Regions from separate parts of the Homo sapiens genome. Here regions 2, 3, 4 and 5 are each linked to region 1. Evidence: promoter capture Hi-C in 16 types of primary human blood cells and fetal thymus (Javierre and others, 2016). All regions are on one chromosome and are shown on one strand. The core of a region is centred on a gene start or on the middle of the fragment in contact, and the rest is flanking DNA. Distances in the headings are between cores, read along the strand shown.

Region 1 (2,815 bases), core at 146-2,645:
CTAGGTTCTAATCTGGGATCCCCCTCTAGGGGAAATATCAGATCTTGAGCATTTTAATGTCTTAGGGTCTCTGTTTCTTCAGGAAAAAAATGAAGTTAAAAGGTATTTGGATGATTTTGGTAATATGAGATAATACTGTAGAAGCATATTCAAATAGAAGGGAGAATGTCAGAGAAGTATGAGCCAGAGGGCTGCTGGGTGTTTTATGGAGAAACTGAGGCCCAGATAAGTGACTTGCTTGGAGTCACACACAGAGCTACCGGCACCCTGCTCTGTCAGGGCTCAGTCTGCTGTCCTTCCCAAGAGAGTTCTAGCCTTAGGATTTGAAAAATGTGCCAATACTATTCCCTCTGTATAACGACACGAAGAAGGCAAATTACATGCCTAGGACTCCAGAATGCTCATGTCCTGAAATGCCAGAAAGCGGTCCCGCCCCTTCCCACAGACCTTTCTCTGCACGGAGGCCAGGGAACCTTTCCCTCCAGGGAATTGGCTAAAGGGATCCACTCCTTCCTGGATCAGAGGTGGAGGTTGAAGGGAGTAGGAGGCTCGGTTAAACCCTCCACGTGCAGAAAGAGAATTTCAGGCCAGAAGGGAGACGGGCAGCCGGTGCGTGGGATACTGGGCACACACCCAGTGGTTTTCCCATTTCTCAGAGGAGGAGCTAGCAGAAGTCTTTTGCTCAAGGCACCTGGTGACCGTGCGAGGAAAGTGACAGTGGAACCCAGTTTAACAGTATCCTAACCCCGAACTCAAGGACCACGCAAGGGCAGTCATTTGTTCCTATCCTTGCTGCCCACTGAATCCAGGGCCTATAGCTCGCTGACCTACTAGGTGCGCGCCTAAAGGCATGCCTGGAGGGCCTGGGTGCGGGCACGTGGAGCCACGGGGCTGGTGAAGGTGACCGCCTTCTCCTTCCTGGACCCGCGTGCTACGCACTACAGACCTGAGGGATGCTCAGGCCCGCAAAGTTTGCTCCACTACTCGGGGGCTCAAGGAGCTGTGCTTGAGGTGGCAGGGGGCGACCTTCAACCCCACGGCTGTTTGTGCTGTCTTTTCTAGTTCAAAACTAATTCCCAGTGGTGGGGGTGGGCTGGGCTTCAGAGAGGGGTCCCATTCCCGAAGCCCGCGTCCTGGTCCCGCCAGCCCACCTCCTGTATCCCTGCCACGGCCCCTGCGTCCCGGGTCCGGGTCCGGGTCCTCAGCTCTGTGGCCGCTCCCACTAGCTGATTTTGACAGTGGGGGGTGGGAGAGGGTTCCCGAAAGGCAGGGGCGGGCGCGGCGAGCCCCTGCCAGATCCGGGGATGATAACGTGCCTGCTCCATGTCGCGGCTTCTAGCTGTCCAGGCTCCGCCCCCTGTGAGTGTGTAAGTGTGTGATGCTGCCGCGGCCGCCGCCGCCGCCTGTGCAGCCGCTGCCGCCGCCGCCGCCGCCGCCGCCGCCGCCGCCGCCGCCGCCGCCGCTGCCGCCCCGGCTGCCGCGCCGCGCCGCTGCCTCTGCCCCGGCCGCCCCCGCCGCCGCTGCCGCCGCCGGCCCGCAGCCAGCCAGGCGGGCGGCCCAGCCCGCCTGAGCCCGCAGCGGCTGCCGCCGCAGCGTCGGGTCGCTGGGTGCGCGGGCTACCGCGGACCGAGCGGACCCGAGTGGGCGACCAGGCGCTTGCCCGCCCAGTGCCACTGCCGCCGCTTCCTCGCCGGAGCACAGGACCAGACACCTCCAGCGCCCGCTGCTGCTGCCGATGCGGCCCGGACACTTTTAGCTGGGCGGGAGGGCTGGAGAGCCGGGGGCCGCCGAGAACCGCCAGCGAGCTGTGCCGAGAGCCGCGCCGACCCGCTGCGATCAGGGACAGGCGCCCGCCCGCCGCCGCCGCCTGGCCGCTATGGATCTATTCGACTTTTTCAGAGACTGGGACTTGGAGCAGCAGTGGTAGGTGTTGATTTTTGCCTTCTCCTTTGATGAGCGAGTCTCCTGGCGAAGTCTGAGGTTTTCGCCTTTGTTAAGAGGAGCTGAAGCTGTCGTGGGGGGCGCCCCGGACTCCCTCCCACTTGCTCTCAGCCACCTCTGGCCCCGGCCGCGCTGACTCCTAGGTCGGATGCCGGGGTGGGGGGAGGTGCGGGAAGAGGGAGGGATGCGGACCCGAAAGCGTCGCTTTGCGCTCCAAGTCTAAAGAGTTGCATTTGGCTCACATCGAATTCGGTGCCGCCCGAGGGCTGAACCGCACGACCTCCCAGGAGCTTTTCTCTCGGAGCGGCTTGCCGGTCTGGCCTCCTTGAGCCCCGGATGCCGCCCGCCCGAAATGTCTCAACTTTCCAGGTGCCCAACGCCCGCGGCGGGCCATGGGGGAAAGGCAACGGCCAGGTGCGGCCAGCAGCCCTCTGCTTCCTTGGTGGCCACCGCCCCCGCTGCCGCCACCTCCATCCCTGCGCTGCGCGGCGCGCACACCTTTCCTTCTGCCGACTCAGCCCAAGTTCCCTGCACTCCCGGGTGGAGCAGCGGCTTTGGGGGCCACCACTCAGGGGACCTTGGTTCGAGGCCGACTTCGGCGCTTGGCTTTCAAGACTGAGGGTTTTCGGAGTTGGCCCCCCAAATCCGCAGCTCTGATGTCAATGCACATTTAATTACCGGATGGACCCCCTTCGGCCTCCCACTGGGAGGCAGCCGTAGTTTTTTGTAAGGGACCTCCAGCTCAGATTCAAAGGTTGAGTCAGCTCTTCACAAAATACCCTAAACTTGTCGCTGAGACATTTTGAAAGATGGTAGAAAGGTGACTGGGGACCTGGAAAGTTGTTAACTCTCTTAGAGATGTGCGTGCGCGTGT
Region 2 (2,815 bases), core at 215-2,714, 330 kb after region 1:
GTACTTCTTTGAAAGGACTTAGACTGAGGATTGTGTGAAATGTATCCTTCTGCCCCCCTTTGCCTGGAGTTGTCATTCTCTAGTACCTTTCACTTATAGCATAAGCTGGCTTTCTAAAGGACTGCTGTGTTGTTGCATTGACACCGTATCTCTCCAACAATGTGAAATCAACAAATCCCTTTGGCAATTTCTGAAACATATAACAAATTGTGCATTATTCTCTAAAAAAAATCAACTTTGATGGGCTTATTTTATTTCTACTTCGAATGGTAACTGGTAATTGTTATTACCTTACTCTCATTCCAATTATCAATACTCTAGCTACAGAGAGTACCACCAGACCCTGTACCGGGACCTAGTCTAGCCTCCTGGCTGTCAGATACCTTGCAAGGAGTAGACACTCAATAAATGTTTTCTGAATGAATGAAATTAAATATAGATTATTAGAAATGCTGCTGGAGGAGAAGCCAATGAAAGTGTGTGAGTTTTATCAAGTTGGTTTGCCTGAGCTGGTGCTAAAGGAGCAAATTGGAAGGTAACCATTAAGAAACATCTCATGCTGTGAGGATATAGCATGTCATTCCATCTTTTGAAGTGACTGTGAAAGGAAAAAAAAAACATGGCTGTAGTATTATGAAAGCCTCGCGAATTATCTCAAATCAGTATATTTTAAGTGATGGTCATTGGATGTAGTTGACGGCAAAATAATTTGAAACAGAAGAGCTGGAAATTCAACATTGCAATTAAAAATCACTTTTGAAAAGAGTTACAATGATCTGATGTCAAAATTAGCTTAAGAATGTAAGAAACAATTTCAAGGGTTAGAAATGTTAAGAACTGGCCCTGAAGAAACCCCAGAATCCTCACATACCTGAACTGGACCACTTAGAAAAAGCCCTCTACCTTGATTCCCTTTTTGATACTGCTCTTTGCAGAACACTTTCTCAGTGGCCAGTTCTTACATTTCTAAGCTTTGATATTGTGTTAATTTTGCCTGTACCAAACAAGGCAAACAATTCAGTGTTGTTCAATCTGATAACATTTCCTAGTGGGGTGTTCAGTCTTCTATTCTGACTGGTTCAACCTAATTTAGACAAAGACAAAGGTCTTAATAAAGATTAAAATTTACAAGGCAATCGTGTTTAGGGAATCAAATACCATTAGTTGGATGGGCCGTGGCCTGAGGTTGCTGCTGCTGAAACCTTTTGCTGAACTAAAAAGGTCTGGTTGAATTCTGCCCAGTATATCACTATAGTGTTCTGTTCCCTTGTATTTACCTTTGGAGACCTTTCTTTGCAGTGTTTGAATGTAGAATGCCCGAGGAGTAACTGGGCCAAAAAAAGTTGCATGAATAGGCCCTGCACATGGTCATATATGTTCCTGTTGTATTCAGTGGGTGAAATGGAATTGATTGCATCTGGCAATGGCAAGAAGATGGCTTGATTGATTGCCTGATTGAGTACACAGTGGAGATTCAGAATACTGATCACTATACTTCCCAATTGTACATTATAATTAGGGCTCTTTTTCAATGGAACCCTGGTTTGGGGGCTGCCAGGATGAAGGCAGCCAATGTGAGCTGAACTTTTTGCATGTACAGATTCTCCTCCTGGATCCGAAGGAGAATATTTCCAGATTCCCTTAAACAACTGCCAGCACTAAAGAGTTTGAATACAGAATTCCATTATTTATTTGAAGAAACATCGCCAGGGTTTTTATACCATGCCATTTAAATCATAAGTTAGTGTTAGAAACTTTTAAAAGAATTGCATTTTGCATTGACCCATTGTTATGCCATGGCCAAGAAGTTATGTTTAATGTAACCGTTGATTTTACACTTCCTCTCTATGAGCACTTGCATGGAAATCAGAGGAGCAATCTCAGGAGACTGTCTTAACAGCATTCCAAATAGAAGAATATTCATTCAATTGAATGGAACAGAGTTTTGACCACTAGAAAAGCTTGGCAGGAATGGCTAGTGATCAAGCCTAGGAAAGTCTATGGTTCCACTGTTGTTAGATTTTCTAAGAGTTCAGCAAACAATCAGACAAATTGGGCTGTTAGCTGTCTCACTGTGAGACAATAGGCTCCCCTCAGCATGTTTCCCCCACCCCATCCCTGGGAGAATGACAAATTTCCTTAGTCAATTTAGTCAGCCGTGTTTATATGTCATGCAAAACAACTGCTCCAGATTCAGTTTTGCATCTTCTCATATATATCTTTGACTTTACAGAAGTAAAGTGTATGATTATCTGATTAGGTAAAGCAGTACAGATGATTCACAACACCCACTCCGCCACCTTTTAGGAATCCCTTTTCACTGCTCTAGGCAGAGGACATTTCGCCTTCAGAGATGAACTGCTCACTGCCTTCTAAGACAGTAGGCTCCATGATTGGAAACCTCAAATGATTGGAAATTCTTTAGTAGTTTGAGCTAAAATTGGTCCCCTGATAACTTTACCCATACAGCCAGTCCTAAACTCTTGGTCCACAAAGCAGGTCTCAAATCTCTTTCATGTGAAAGACTTTCATGGATTTAAAGACACTCCTCACTCTCCCTTTTCTGTGGACTAAACTTTCCCTGTTTCTTTAATGTCTATGTATACATGAGATGAGCTTTCCAAGCTCTTACCATTCAGATAGCTGTCCCTTAGAGGTATTGCAGTATTCCCATGCCCCCACTGAGATGGGACATCCAGGAGAGCACTCTGAGAGGGCCCTGAGAGGAAAAAGATCAGTAGTTCTTCCCACATGCCCTACTTCCCTCTAAGGGAATTTCGTTTGGAACAGCCAAGCTCCCTGACCCTGAGCAAAG
Region 3 (2,815 bases), core at 157-2,656, 310 kb before region 1:
ATTCCCTGTTTCAGTTATCATTCATTTATTTCACGCCATACACAAAATAGTGTTAGTTGGAATTAAATATTTCTAATCTTGATTTTTCTCAAAATTGCCATCTTGTTGATCAGATATCATATATTAAACACTATTTTGTCTTTTCCCAAGTGATTTTTATCATATACTAAATTACCACATATACTAGGCTGTAATTATTGATTGTATTTAATGAAATACTCTAATTTAAGAGGCTGTGTCACATACTGAAAAAAATATAACTTTTATAGATATATATCTATTTCATAAAATGTCATGGATGTGTCACTGAGAGACAAGGGGACAACACAGTTACACATCTTGCCATATGTGTATGAACTGAATAACAGATGATTAGTGACCAATCACTGGCAGACATTGAAAGAAGTGATGAAATAGATCACTAGTCATGATGCACATTGTTATTACATAGTAGATTTGTAGACTGAAGAGCCAGCAGTGAGGTTTGTACTTAATGCAGTTATTCACAGTATACAGTGAGAACTGAAATCTGAACTGTGCTCTTGGGGAGCTAGTGTTCTTTAAATAAACTGTGGAATCTGAAATATATGTATACAGAATTGTGAAAAGTTAAGAACTGGATGCAAAGTATATCCCACAGTCCTTGACACAAAGTAGGTGCTCATAAAAGTTAAGCTTCCTTTTATTTTCCCTTTAGATGACTCTAAACAGGCCTACACAAATTTTAGTGTTAATTGGGGTTAGACATTGTGTCCTTCAGCTACTACTAACCTCTGTATACTCCATCCTATAATCATGGTTTCCCTCCCAGTTTGGGGGTCTAGTTATATCTGACATTTTCAACCATTATTTATAAATATGTGAGTTTTAAAATTAAATGTTCTCCCTCAAAAAATGTTCACAAATCACTTAGGCATTGATAATGAAACAAGTGAGTCTTATCAATGAGAGTAGCTTTAGGTAGGTGACCAAGCAGAAAGTTCATTCAAGGGTTGATGTTTTAAATTTTTACTTCTAATGATGTTGAATTTGAATTATTTATTGGCTCTAGGAGACTAGGATGTTGAATTTATTGTAGAACCTTGAAAAGTGTTGTTACCTCCTTTTGCTAGCACCTTAGTACAGATACAACATTGTTGCAGTGCCACTTCCTCTCTTAGAGGTCTTCATTGAGTATGTGAAATGACTCCGAAATACCAATTTCAGACATGCCCATTTTAGGTCATAGTTTATCTTTCACAAAGGTAGGCCACCATTTTGTCATTCTTTAGCAGGTGCCAATTGCTGTTAAGCTAAACTTGCTATAAACAATAGTAGTTCTCTGGCATGATGACTCTTATGGCCATCTGTTAGGGTGGCACTGTGCCCACCCATAGAGTGGTATGCCAGTTTCAACAGGGCACAGGTGCCAGCCAAACATAGGTTTAGAAGGCTAGCCTGCAAGAACTCAGCAAGGAGATCCTCCAAGTGGTTAGTGATGCCAAATTAGACCCACATGCTTCATTACAAGGGATCACATCTGTTGATGCTTGTGGGCATTATATTGTCAATTAAGGCTTTTCTTTCTGTTTCTTTATTCATTCCAACTTTGGAATGGGAATACAGAAAATCAGGAGCAAAATTACTCCTTGGCCAGAAAAATAATCAGTATTTCCCATGTCATCCCCTGATGTCAGTTTTCTGCAGCTCCAAACTTTATTCTAAATTATGTGAAAACCAAAAGACACATGATGCTAGCTTATGATGCTCTATTATTAAAGATGACATTTAGGAAACAACCAGCTAACTCTATCTCTGATTATCGACAACATTTTAAGAATTTATCTGCTGGAAACAGAGATTTTAATCCTAGTTAAGTGTGTGTCTCATGTATCACCTGTTATTTCTTTATTGAAGGATTATTTTCAACCAAAGACAAGATGGACCACAACGAGTCATTTATTATCCAGTGTTCTCTTTCATGTCTGGGCTGCAGTGCATGGCTTGACTCCAGAATAGTGTTATTACACCTTTGTGTGTTTCAAACTACACTACAGGTTAGGTATATGAGACATAAGGGAAATACAGCTACCTATGCCACATAGAAACACAGAAAGAGTTTTTGGAGATTTAGGAACAGAGGCAGGGCTGAGGTTAGAAAGCTTTCTTGTTGTATAATACAGACCATGGTAGTGTCTTAAATATGGGATGGTGTTTAAAAGTTCACATCAGTCATTTTCATTTCCCCCAAATGTTTATGCACCTAGATTACAGATACATTCATGAAGAATTACTAATACCATAGCTTGTCATGTAAAATAACCTAGAGGACTTTGGCGTATATGCTTGATTTTTGTGATTGCTAGCTTAACATGTGTATTTTCCCTCTCTCACTCTTTTCCATTGATAACACTAACATAAACAGAAATCAAAACTGGGCATTCTGTTGCATCCCAGTGTATTATTTCCTCATGGTACTGAGCATTCAATCTATCAATCCTAATTATCAGGCAGATTAGAAGTAACCAAAGCAGGATATATCCCACAAAAGCGCAGAAATTATAGGATGGAAACAGCATAAAGGGACGTGGGTGATGGTGGGGAAGAGGAAAAGAGTAGAGTAGTGAGTGCACAAGCATTGAGGTCACAGAGACCTGGGTTGGAATTCCAGCTCTACTCCTAGCTCCTATTAATACTACCAGTTACTACTAGCAGATGTGTAAGCTTGGGCAAAACATTAAACCTCTCTCATCCTCATTTTTCTCACCTGTAAAATAAAGACAATTATACACACACACATGCACGCACGCACACACACACACACACACACACACAC
Region 4 (2,815 bases), core at 101-2,600, 310 kb after region 1:
TGTATTTAATAGGAAAAAAATGATAGCTAGATTTTCTTGCTTTACAGTTTGTCCTACAGAGTAAACTATTATACAAGAAGAAGAAGTAGATTGTGCCTAATGTTTTCTGTTTATTTTGTTTCAGGTAAGCCTTCCCAGTGATCCAAGCTGTGTTGAAGAAATCTTGCGGGTGAGTTTAAACCTTTATTTTTGTGCCTTTTAATAATGAAGCAATCTATCTGCTTAAGCTGTTTAAAGTAATTACTGTTCTGTTTCAAGGAGTTTCATGATGGGGAATCCTGATATTCTACTTCAAGACCCTTCTGCTTATTCCAGTGGCCTCATTTCTTGCCTGTCTTCTTTCCATTTTGTAATCAAGCTAGTCTTCTAATATCACTAAGCTTCTGCCCTATCCATTCCTACATCCTTCTCAGACAGAGACTTACCACCTTCTTTAGGAAACGTTCCCTGTTCAAGCACCATACCCTAAACCTTTGCCTTTTACCTTTCTGGGATCTCAGCTCAATCTCACTGCTGCCGCCCACTATGTGGAACATGGTTACCGAGATTGATTGTGGCCTATAATAAGGGGAAGAGATGTGGGAATGGGAGAGGAGGAGAAGATGAGAGACTTGAAAATGATGGCATGTTGTGGAAAGTGTTACTTATGGAAGTGAGTGTATGTGTGTGAATGCCTTGAGGGCAGAACAAAGTTGAAAGAATGGCTATAATCTCTTCTGAAGTAAACAATCAAACCAAAAGAAGAAACCAAAGTTAAGCAAGAAAAACATATCTGTCTGCTCTCTCTGGCCATTGGCATCATAAGGCAGTATGGAATCTCAAGAATAGGAGTCATGGTAATGAGCTCCTGAGCTCCTGTCCTGGCTCTACCATTTGTCACTTCTGTGACCTTGGACAGATGACTTTATCTCTCTGAATCTCCTTTCCTCGTCTGTAAAAGAGGACAATAATACCTGCCCTAACTCCCTTATAGGCTACCAAGTGGTATATAAATGCTGGCTATTGTGATAAATGATGACCAGTGTAGTCATGTAAAAACCATGAAGGCTTTCTATCTGGGAAAGAAAATAATCTATGTGCCAGTGAAAATTTGGCACCCCCTTTCCTCAGTTACCAAAGTCACTCCAACTCCCTCCTGATCCCCCTCTCCCAGTAAGTGCCTTCTCAGCAGCCCAGTGTTTGAAGCAAGCCCTGAGCAAATGCAGCCAAAGGAATAGTCAAGAGCCAAAAGCTGTTTACCATTGAAATGGCTTGCCACCCGGAGTATACCTGATGTACACATTCGTGCACCTGTTTCAGCCCAAGAACATTGTTCTTGACTATTAAAGAGATGAGCCAGTCATATCACTTTGATCAACGATGAGACTATATGGATTAGGGCAGGGGTTCCCAATCCCAAGTCAATGGACTGGTACCATGTGTTCCTCGTGAGAATGTAATGCCTTGATGATCTCAGGTGGAACAGTTTCATCCAAAACCAACTCCCCACCCCTACTCCCACTCCCTACCCCCTCATCTGCGGAAAAATTGTCTTCCATGAAACCAGTGCCTGGTGTTAAAAAGGTTGGGGACTGCTAGATTAGGACTATGCTGACTACTTTGGTAAGATAAGAACCCAGCAACCCCTCAGTCATCTGTCTCAGGGGCCCGACGTTTTGGGTGGAGACGAGGCAGCTGTTATGAGCACCACAAAAGGAATGCACACTGGGAACTCAGGCCTTTCCCATTGGGAAAATACATTCAGTCCTTGCTCACTTGTCAACAGCCTTCCTTAACAGAAGGTAATAACATTGAAAGAAATGTCTTACTCTGCTCTAGATAGTAACCTTGTTATTCCTTTCTTCTCCGAGTCACAAGCATAAATAAACTCAGTGGCCTTTTTATAAACTCCCAAAGGAATGCCAGGCATATCTCAAAATCTCACTAATTTGTCACAATCGAAATTACATACTTAAAAGCAACCCAGCCCTGGTGCCTAGGTGGTTATGTGACTAAATGCAGGAAGGAGGGTGAACACCTGGCTGAGGCTGGCGACACCAGTCTCCTAAAGGAGCCACTTAGAGAAACAACAGAATTTCACTTACACATGGAAAGAAAAGAAGCAGGTTGCCTTAATAGGCTCACAAAAGATAACATGCTTTGAGAAAGTAACAAAAGTCCTTCTGTTATTCTTGAAAGAGAATCTAGAGAAATGTCTCTTTTTTTTGAAGGGCTATAGATTGTATAGAATTCTTTTTTTTTTTTTCCAACAACGCTGTTAATGAGTGGGCCTTCCTTTATTAAAGAAAGAATGTTTCATTCCCCATGCTTCGAATAAAAATAAGCTTTCTGAAATTTGCGTCCCCAATTTTATGACTAATTGTTAAATTTTTATAGACCACCTTGCATGTCACAATAGAGCATGCTTGTTGGGCTTTTTGTCTTAATTACACATTCATGTTCCTTTTGGTTTGAGGGCCTTAGAGGCCTGTGACGGGTTCCGCAGTAAATTTGTCACCTCATTCCCCATAAACCCCTTTCTTAGGGAAAAGTACATTTTATCTTTCTCCCTACCTCTCCTGGCCATGCTCGCTGCTTTTCAAACTAAGCAGAGGCCCAAACAATGTCATCTCTCCTCACTGAGGGGAGCTATGCAGAGGAAGGAGCACTAGCCCCGGAGTGGAGGAGCTGGCTTCCAGTTGCTCATGAGATTCCCTTATTTCCTAGCTGTGTTGCTTTTCAGTTTCTTCATCTAGAAGCATGCGCTAGTTATTACCCCGCCCATCTCTCTACCCACCTCCAATGAAGGAATATTTAAATTATACACATTGTTTGC
Region 5 (2,815 bases), core at 168-2,667, 290 kb before region 1:
TGATTAAACCAATAGGCCAGTGCCTAGTTCAACCCTGTACATCAAAAGGAATAATATTGACACAATACAAATTATTTATGAAATTTGTTCTCCCCATTATGAGGCTGAGCCCAACATAAATTTGTTATCTAGTTCTCAGGGGGAAAAAATGACAGTTTCTTTAGGTATTTTATTATGGTCTCACAAATACAGATTCTGATGTGAGTCCAAAATGACCACATTAATGTTTGCAAGGTACTGGAGAGGTGAGGGTGAGGGTAAATATAAGAGTGCTTTTAGAAAACTCTTTTGTAATGTTTCCAGGTTTGCACTCTGTTCATTATCGCAGCCCCATTCCTTTATGCAGATAGAATTTGGGTCACTGAATTACAGTATGGAAGAATTTTAGAGAAAGATCGATTAATTGGCCCCTTTTGGTGCAAGAGAACTTCAGTCTGGCTCCTATGGCTTTAGTAACTTTGGCCTTTACTATCTTAGCATGTCATTTCCAGGAAAGTGCTTAGTTAAAATAAATACCTAGCTATTTATATACCCAGTATCAATCAATTGACTGACAATATGGAGCCCATCAAATTGTCATTTGTCCCTCTCCCAATCATCAATTTTTTTGGATAATTAATATTTCATGATGATTCCTTAAGTGAATTATTCTATGCAGATATATATTTGGGCTCCTGGGTGAGTATTTTTGTATGTATTTATATTATACCTCATTTCACAAAGGAATTAAGGTAACTTGTAAGAGGACAAAAAATTACATAAAAATTAAGAAAAAATTCCAGGGTTATAATGGTTATAAGTTTTAATAAAATATTGGCAACCACAGGGATAGATGTTTCTAGGGTCACTTGAGGGAGGAAAAATACTGCACAAGATAGCTTTTGAAATTTTGATATTAGATTGTTATCTTGGATTTTATAGAACAAAAGTAAGACATGTATTTATAAAATATTTACTATAAAGGAAAAAGTTTCATGACTGCTTATACTGTACTTTATTGATTTTATGTTAAAAATGTAAACAAAGATTATCAGCAGTATTTATTACAAATATTTCTAGGACTCTGTTATCAAGTAACAAACTGGAACATTATCCAATAATACCTCGGCAGGACAGATCAGAGCCCAGGATTACCTTACTTTTTAAAAATGACAGAGAATGGGAGGAGAACACAAGTATACAAGGAGAAAAGTCACTAGGGACAGCCAACACAGTAAATAAACAGAATAATAATAGCAGGCCAAAAACTTAGTTTATTACTTGTACACAGCAGCAATTTAGAATTTGTGCAGAGATAATGAAATGCCCTATAATCTGATTTCCAGATTAAGTGTGTCATTAAGATAAAAGTTGAATAGAAGCAGGACTAAGGTATGCCCTTGCTTCACTCATGGTCAAAGAACTGGCAATTCCTACCTTTATTTCATCTGGGGTGCTGGTGAGAACCTGTTGAAGCAGAACTAAGAGACGCCTATCAGTGATGATGAAAGGCTATTTGTCCAGAGCTGATTTCTTGTGACAGAGCCAGAGGCTGCAGCAAAATCTACAAATGCAGCAGGGTAGTGTTTAATAGGGCTTCATATACTTTGTTGTACAAAATAATAAAGATGTTTTATTATGTGTAAAATTTTTGTTCACTGAGAGCAAGTCATGCTAAACTAAACTTAATGCCTTAATCATCTATTTAAAAAGAGTTTTCAAAGTCTGTTATTAGACTCATTTGATCGGGAGATTGTTATAGATGTAATACATCTGGTTTTCTGCAGTGTTTGATATTTATTCATTCAACAAATATTTGTCAAATAGCTGCTATCTGCTACTCCATGCCAGGCACTTCTCTAGGCACTGGGGAAACAGCAGTGGACAAAACAGTTAAAAACCCATGTTTCTTGGAGCTGACATTCTAGTGGGAAAGAGAGAAAACAATCAAGTAAATAATATAATGTATCTGCTGATGTCATTGCTGGGGGTTAGAGAATACTTGGCCAGTGGGGCCTGAGATGGGATGGGGGATATTATTTAATATAAGATAATCAGGGCAGGCCTCTCTAATAAAGTGACTATGAGCAGAGACTTGAAGGAAGAAAGGGAGAAAGTCATGTGGCTATCTGGGTAGAGTATCCCAGATGGAAGGAACAGCAAATGCAAAGGTCCCAGAGTACAAATGTTAGTGTTTGAAATGTGGCAAGGAGGCCAGCAGGACTACAGCTGATCGTGCCAGGAAGATAGTGAAAGGAGAGAGGAGGAAAGAACAATGGCAGGAGATGAGAGGAAGGGACACATAATGTTGCTCAGTCATAGTGAAGACCTTGGGGTTTACTGGGAGCAGAATGGGATGTCATGTTCTCCTCTGGCATCTTGAAGACAGAGAAATGAAAACTGAATAGAAGTACAGGTAAGTGAATTCCTGGCTGATGAAGCCACTACGTGATGATTAATGGATCAGTGTAACAATGGAGCGAGGTCTATCATGGAGTTCTGCACTTGGCTGTACTATCATATGCAATTCCTTTGACTTGCGGAAGTAATCATGATTATATTAATAATAGCTAATACTTATCTAGCACTTACTGCAAGCCAAGCACAGTTCCAATTGTTTTACATGTATTCCCTCATGTAATTCGCACAACAGCTTTATGATTAAGTGTTATTATAATCATCACTGATAAAGCTATGGAAACACTAAGATGCAAAATAAAGTGCCCTGCCTGGGTCACAAGGCTAGCATGATGTTGACCTGGTTCCAGAGTCTGTCCTCACAATCATTATACCACACTCTCAACATAGAACACATACATGGTCACCAAATTTTCAG

The links. The method cuts DNA at HindIII sites, captures the fragments that hold promoters and counts their contacts. A CHiCAGO score of 5 or more calls a contact.
Region 2: a contact is called between a fragment that was not itself captured here and the fragment with the promoter of AFF2 in region 1, in 1 of 17 cell types (neutrophils). The highest score is 6.5, in neutrophils.
Region 3: a contact is called between a fragment that was not itself captured here and the fragment with the promoter of AFF2 in region 1, in 4 of 17 cell types (naive CD4 T cells, activated CD4 T cells, total B cells and 1 more). The highest score is 7.7, in naive CD4 T cells.
Region 4: a fragment that was not itself captured here is called in contact with the fragment with the promoter of AFF2 in region 1 in 1 of 17 cell types (neutrophils); the score reaches 9.0 in neutrophils.
Region 5: a contact is called between a fragment that was not itself captured here and the fragment with the promoter of AFF2 in region 1, in 1 of 17 cell types (naive CD4 T cells). The highest score is 6.2, in naive CD4 T cells.

Annotation. Positions count from the first base shown.
Region 1 is chrX:148,499,222-148,502,036 of GRCh38, forward strand. AFF2 (ALF transcription elongation factor 2) reads left to right here and starts at 1,396. Exons shown (of 21, transcript NM_002025.4): 1 at 1,396-1,923. The coding sequence starts at 1,877. RefSeq lists an enhancer at 2,056-2,815. The HindIII fragment of the contact is 5,176 bases long and covers 1-2,815 here.
Region 2 is chrX:148,827,423-148,830,237 of GRCh38, forward strand. The region is part of intron 4 of AFF2 (ALF transcription elongation factor 2); the gene reads left to right. Among named protein-coding and RNA genes, the nearest start is that of AFF2, 330 kb to the left of the region's middle. The HindIII fragment of the contact is 990 bases long and covers 970-1,959 here.
Region 3 is chrX:148,184,416-148,187,230 of GRCh38, forward strand. No RefSeq gene overlaps it. Among named protein-coding and RNA genes, the nearest start is that of FMR1NB, 200 kb to the left of the region's middle. The HindIII fragment of the contact is 1,466 bases long and covers 674-2,139 here.
Region 4 is chrX:148,809,752-148,812,566 of GRCh38, forward strand. AFF2 (ALF transcription elongation factor 2) reads left to right here. Exons shown (of 21, transcript NM_002025.4): 4 at 125-169. Among named protein-coding and RNA genes, the nearest start is that of AFF2, 310 kb to the left of the region's middle. The HindIII fragment of the contact is 1,944 bases long and covers 379-2,322 here.
Region 5 is chrX:148,213,258-148,216,072 of GRCh38, forward strand. No RefSeq gene overlaps it. Among named protein-coding and RNA genes, the nearest start is that of FMR1NB, 230 kb to the left of the region's middle. The HindIII fragment of the contact is 8,090 bases long and covers 1-2,815 here.